Regions from separate parts of the Homo sapiens genome. Here region 2 is linked to region 1. The links are contacts of gene promoters, found by promoter capture Hi-C in blood cells and fetal thymus (Javierre and others, 2016). All regions are on one chromosome and are shown on one strand. The core of a region is centred on a gene start or on the middle of the fragment in contact, and the rest is flanking DNA. Distances in the headings are between cores, read along the strand shown. Region 1 holds the start of MKNK2 (MAPK interacting serine/threonine kinase 2). Region 2 holds the start of PEAK3 (PEAK family member 3).

The links. The method cuts DNA at HindIII sites, captures the fragments that hold promoters and counts their contacts. A CHiCAGO score of 5 or more calls a contact.
Region 2: a contact is called between the fragment with the promoter of PEAK3 here and the fragment with the promoter of MKNK2 in region 1, in 1 of 17 cell types (neutrophils). The highest score is 5.2, in neutrophils.

The regions. Positions count from the first base shown.
Region 1 is chr19:2,049,665-2,052,493 of GRCh38, forward strand. It overlaps MKNK2 (MAPK interacting serine/threonine kinase 2), which reads right to left and starts at 1,580. Exons shown (of 14, transcript NM_199054.3): 1 at 1,432-1,580; 2 at 1,137-1,283. The coding sequence starts at 1,187. RefSeq lists enhancers at 1-488, 665-724 and silencers at 295-484, 1,215-1,754. The HindIII fragment of the contact is 17,390 bases long and covers 1-2,512 here.
Region 2 is chr19:2,280,832-2,283,531 of GRCh38, forward strand. PEAK3 (PEAK family member 3) reads right to left here and starts at 1,344. Exons shown (of 4, transcript NM_198532.3): 1 at 1,256-1,344; 2 at 19-104. The coding sequence starts at 100. RefSeq lists an enhancer at 1,060-1,199. The HindIII fragment of the contact is 9,031 bases long and covers 1-2,700 here.

The sequences.
Region 1 (2,829 bases), core at 330-2,829:
ACTCTGTATCAGCTCATGCCTGGCCCTAGGAGGGAGAAGACCACTGTCAGGTCCTCCTCTTTCCCGCCCAGCCCCTGACACTCTGATGGTGCCAGGCCTGCTGCCCTAGGGGAAAACTGGGCAGGGGTGGCAGGGGTGGAGTGCTGCCCTGGGGCACTGGCTGGACAGACCTGGGAATTCTTCCCAGTCTCTCTTTGCTCCTCCCACCCTGGAGCACCGCGTTGTGTGTACACACAAGACAGAGACACACACACACACAAACACACACACATACACTCACACTCTCTCTTCCTCTCTCCAGTCCTGCCTTCCCTACCGGGCAACAGGTCCCTGCCCAAGGAAGCCCAGTGAAGCGATTACATAACCCCGGCCTGAGGGGTGGGGCGGGCCGGCTGACATCACTGCGTCCCCTGGGCCAGGTCCTGCGGGGCCCCTGCCCAGCACCTGCCCTCCCCTTCCCCCCCAAGATTTGCTCATCTGAAACCAGCACTCAACAGCAGTCACCACCCGGGCTGCGCAGAAACTTCCCGCTCCGACAGGAAACAGCACTTGGGCCTGGGGTGTCTGCGAAGTGCAGGGCTGAGGGGACATCCCATCCCCTCCCCCACGGCACAGGCCCCCTGGGGGTGGGTGCACCTGACCAGCCCGGCCTGGGGATTCTGAAAGAAAGTCCCCAGAAGCCACATGGAGGTGGGAATGGGACTGTGGCCCGCTGACCCGTCCCCACCAGGGCACAACCAGCTGGAGCTTGCAGGGGACACCCCCCATAAGCCACATGCAGCGACTGGGACAGGACTGCAGCCTGCTGACCCCCCAGAACATACCCGGCGGGGGCTTGCAGGGGACACACAGCCTGGTGCCCTGACCCGGAGGGGGCTCCTGCTCCCAGCCTCACTTGGGGGTCCTGGAGGAAGGACCCGGCGGCCATGGCTGGAGAGAGGACTGTGGCCTGCTGAACCCCCATCCTCGCACACCGACCCCGCTTCAGCGCACGGCCGGCCCGGGCAGCCCCGGGTGTAGGGCGGGGGCCAGGCACGAGCCCCGGGAGCCGATCTTAGGGGCGGGCCCCGCGCCCCCCACGCCGGCCATTCCGGTGGTCCAGCCCGGAGCGCCCCCAAACCGACCCCGGGCCTCACCTTGAACGAACGGTGGAAACCCTGAAGTTCGGCTGGTTTCTTCTGCACCATCTTCTGTCCGGGCCCCGCCAGCGGGGGAGGGGACCGAGGGCCCGGGGGGAGGCCCGAGGGCGGGCGGCCGGGCGGGGGGCGGCCGAGGAGGGGACCCTGCGGGCGGGAGCAGACAAAGGGAGGGCGGTGAGCGGAGCCCGGCCTGCCAGGAGCGCGGACCGGGCGGGGGCGGCGAGGGCTCCGCGGGGCCCGTTTCCCGCTACCGGGTCGGTGTCCTCGGGGCCGCCCTGGGGTTCGCACTCACCGGGGTCGGGCTTGGGCCGGGGCCGCAGTGCCGCCGCCGCCCCACGTCGCGCAGCCCGGACCCCGCTCCGCGGACCGCGCGGGGAACAGCGCCGCCGCCGCCGCCAGCGCGGACCCCTCTACCTGGGCCACCGCCGCTGAGAGGAGCCGGGCGCGTCGCCGCCGCCGCCACCTTTATAGGCCCGGACCTGCTCTGGCCCCGCCCCCGACGCAGGCTCCGCCCGGCCTCACCCCCTGCGCACGACGTGGGCGGAGCCAGAAGAGGGCGCTCTCCGGGAACCCAGTGCGGCTGCGCGCTCCGGCGGTGGGGCGTGTCCGAAACGGCTAGCGCACGCCTGCGCAGTGCGGCGCACGGGGGTCTCGGTGCGGAACCTAGGCAGCGACCCTGCGGCGCGCCCGGAGCTGGCCTGTTTTTGCCGCCTGAGGCTCGCGGGGCCCGTGGGACCTGCGAGGCCCTGGGCCGTGTCCTACCGCCTGGCCCCACACAGGGCAACTCCCTTGGCCTGTCAACCCAGGCCTAGTATACCCCGACTCCCTTGGTTCATGCCCTCGCTCTAGAACCTGCCATGGCTCCCTCTTGCAGTTCTCCAGTGCTGGCTCCAGCAGTCCCCCTCGTGCACCACCAGCACGCTTGGAGTCCCAGCCACTCCCTTCTAGTGCTGGGGGACCAGCCACCGCCACCTACTTTCTTCTTCCCCTGGGCCACCCTGCCTGGGGAGCACTGAGCTCCCCGAGTTTGCTTTGTGGTTGGCAGGAACCAGAGTAGAGGGTGGGGACCGAGGTCTGTGAAGGACCCTTCCTCTGTCCTCGAATAGCATTTCAGGGAGAACTGGGACCTGAGACCCACTGGGAAAGAGCCCAAGGGGTGGATGGTCGCCAGGACAGGAAGTAAAACACAGTCCCATTTTGGCTGGGGCCCCAAACCAGGCTTAGATAGAATCAGCCTGTCCTGAGCTGCCAGTCCCCCATCCCACAGCATCCTGGTTCAAAGTGCTCCCCAGGCCCCGGGCCTGGGGCACACAAGGAGTGGGGGTTCCCCTGCTGGGTGGACTGTGGTCTCCTCTTCTGCAGGGGTTTCCAGAAGCTTCGCACAGCCCATCCCACCATCCCCCAACCAGGCCCTGAGCTCAAGAGGGGCTGGAGCCCCACTGACCTGAAGCTGGAGGGCCCCTGCCTGCAAGGCCACAGCTCTCAGGCCACAGGGGCTGGGAGGCCTGGCCTCAGCCACCCCCGGGGCATTGGGGGGAAGCCTGTGGGGAATTCCCAGCCAGAACCCAGCCCAGCACCTGGCATTGCCCTGACTCTTGGCAATGGGGGGACAGAAAACCAGGTCCCCCAGCCCCCCTTATTGTGCATGTGGGTGCGTGTGTGTGCGTGTGAACACATACACGCACAAACA
Region 2 (2,700 bases), core at 94-2,593, 230 kb after region 1:
CCCTGGGGAGCTGCTTACCAAGGTTGCTATACGTGGGCTGAGTCGACCAGGTGGGGTTGTCGGGCTCGGGGGGCTCTGTGGGGGGCTCCGGGCTGCTCATGTTGCTGGGGAAAGGTCAAACGGGGCGTGTGTGGGGTGACCGTGTGCACGCACAGGGCGACATGGGGAGGGGTCCGTGAGTGCTGGGGCCTGGGAGACCGTCGAGGCCTCCTGCTCCAGGGCCCTTGGTGAGAACAGGCGCACCCACACTCCACTCCCTTGTCCAGTTTTGACCCTGCTGTGTGATCCCGAGTGGGTTTCCTGTCCTCTCTGGGCCCCTGCTGTGTGATCCCGAGTGGGTTTCCTGTCCTCTCTGGGCCCCTGCTGTGTGATCCCGAGTGGGTTTCCTACTCTCTCTGGGCCCCTGCTGTGTGATTCTGAGTGGGTTTGCTGCCCTCTCTGGGGCCCTGCTGTGTGATCCTGAGTGGGTTTGCTGCCCTCTCTGGGCCCCTGATGTGTGATCCCGAGTGGGTTTCCTGCCCTCTCTGGGGCCCTGCTGTGTGATCCCGAGTGGGTTTCCTACTCTCTCTGGGCCCCTGCTGTGTGATTCTGAGTGGGTTTCCTGCCCTCTCTGGGGCCCTGCTGTGTGATCCCGAGTGGGTTTCCTACTCTCTCTGGGCCCCTGCTGTGTGATTCTGAGTGGGTTTGCTGCCCTCTCTGGGGCCCTGCTGTGTGATCCTGAGTGGGTTTGCTGCCCTCTCTGGGCCCCTGATGTGTGATCCCGAGTGGGTTTCCTGCCCTCTCTGGGGCCCTGCTGTGTGATCCCGAGTGGGTTTCCTGCCCTCTCTGGGGCCCTGCTGTGTGATCCCGAGTGGGTTTCCTACTCTCTCTGGGCCCCTGCTGTGTGATTCTGAGTGGGTTTCCTGCCCTCTCTGGGGCCCTGCTGTGTGATCCCGAGTGGGTTTCCTGCCCTCTCTGGGCCCACTTCCTCAATCATGAGGCAGGTCTGTCACCCATCAATTTTCCAGGCAGTGGGAAGGACCCCCCTCTGCACGTTTGGGATGGGGACAGAGTGTTCAGCCTGAGGACAGGCCTTTGGGGGTCAGTTGCGGGGGAGACAGTGTCCAGGGACCCAGGGATCCACACTCAGGCCTCATCCCCGAGGGCTCAGCCGTGCGGTTGCTGCCGGCAGCCAGGCCTCGACCCACCCCCGCCCAGATCCCAACCTCAAAAAGTGGCCGCTTCTGTCCAGCTCCCCGCTCCAGGAGCCCCCTACCTTCAAGACTGGCGTGCCCTCTGGGGGAGGAGGGGTCCGTGGGGACAAACTCCCAATGGCCACAGCCCCTGGCCTCGCAGGAGGGGTCTGACCTGGCGCCGGCAGCTGACAGGAAAACGTCCGGCCCACTGTCAGACCGCAGCCCGGGGTGGGGAGGGGACATTTCTGCAACACTTCCCCAGCAGCCGAGGCCGCCGCCTCCCCTGCCCGCCCGCAGAGGACAGGATGTAACCGGGAGGGAACAGCCTGGACAGAGACCAGGAGGTGGGATCTGAAAGTCAATAGCCCCAGGGCTGACAGCCGGGTGGGGGCAGTGGAAGGCCCCCCACAGCCTCAGAGGCCAGGCTGGGGTGCGGGGCAGTGGGGAGCCCTGTGAGATGGGGAGAGAGGGGCAGAGCTGGCCCACCGTAGGGGAGCGCACAGAACACGGTGGCGGCTGTCCCTGGAGAAGGTGCAAGTGGGGTCTGTGGGTTTCACTTCCCCGGGAACCACCTCCCCTCCTGCGGCAGCATCTGAGGAGCCCCCAGCGGCCCCCTGCCCCATCCCAGGGCCCCCGAATGTGGAGCGTGGGCGAGGACCCTCCCGGCTCTGCCGCGCCTCGCTGTGTGACTGCGGGCAAATCCCCACCCTCTCCGTGCTCCGGCGAAGAAAGAAGAGTGGCTCCCACATCCCGCCTGCTAACAGCCACGCCTGCTGGATTTTTCTTTGAAAAGATGGAATCGGCTCGTTTTCCCCCTTCCCCCTTCCTCACTGCCTCGATGCATTTATTTAGAAAAGACGTTTTAGATAAAATCACCATAAATGGAAAAATCAAGAATGGAAAAAACCCAAGGAAAAGCAGACGCGGGGTGAAATTCCAGCTGAACTGCGTGCCTGTCAAAACTGTCTTTTTCTTTGGAGACAGGGTCTCACACTGTTGCCCAGGCTGGAGCGCAGTGGTGCAATCCCAGCTCACTGCAGCCTGGAACGAGCTCCTGGGGCGATCCTCCCTCCTCGGCCTCCCAAAGTGCTAGGATCACAGGTGTGAGCCACCCTGCCCGGCCCCAAAGATGTTTTTGCTGCAAGGATTGAGTGTATTTTATGTGGGATCCCCGATCCCGTTTCCCTTAGGGAAAATGGGCCCAGAAAGAGTAGGGGCTCCATCCAGGGTCACGCAGCAGCTCGAGGCTGGGAGCAGAGGTCCACAGAGCCACTGCTGAGTCCCCCTGGCCTCCCCCAATCCCCTGAGAAGGGGCAGGAGGGGAAGGAGACTACATTTTTCTTATGAACTTCCCTTGAGTGGGTCCCATGCCACACTTTTTTTTCTTTGAGGCAGGGTCTAGCTCCGTCCCCTAGGCTGGAGTGCCGTGGTGTGATCATAGCTCACTGCAGCCTCCGCCTCCTGGGCTCAAGTGATTCTCCCACCTCAGCCTCCTGAGTAGCTGGGACCACTGGTGTGCACCACC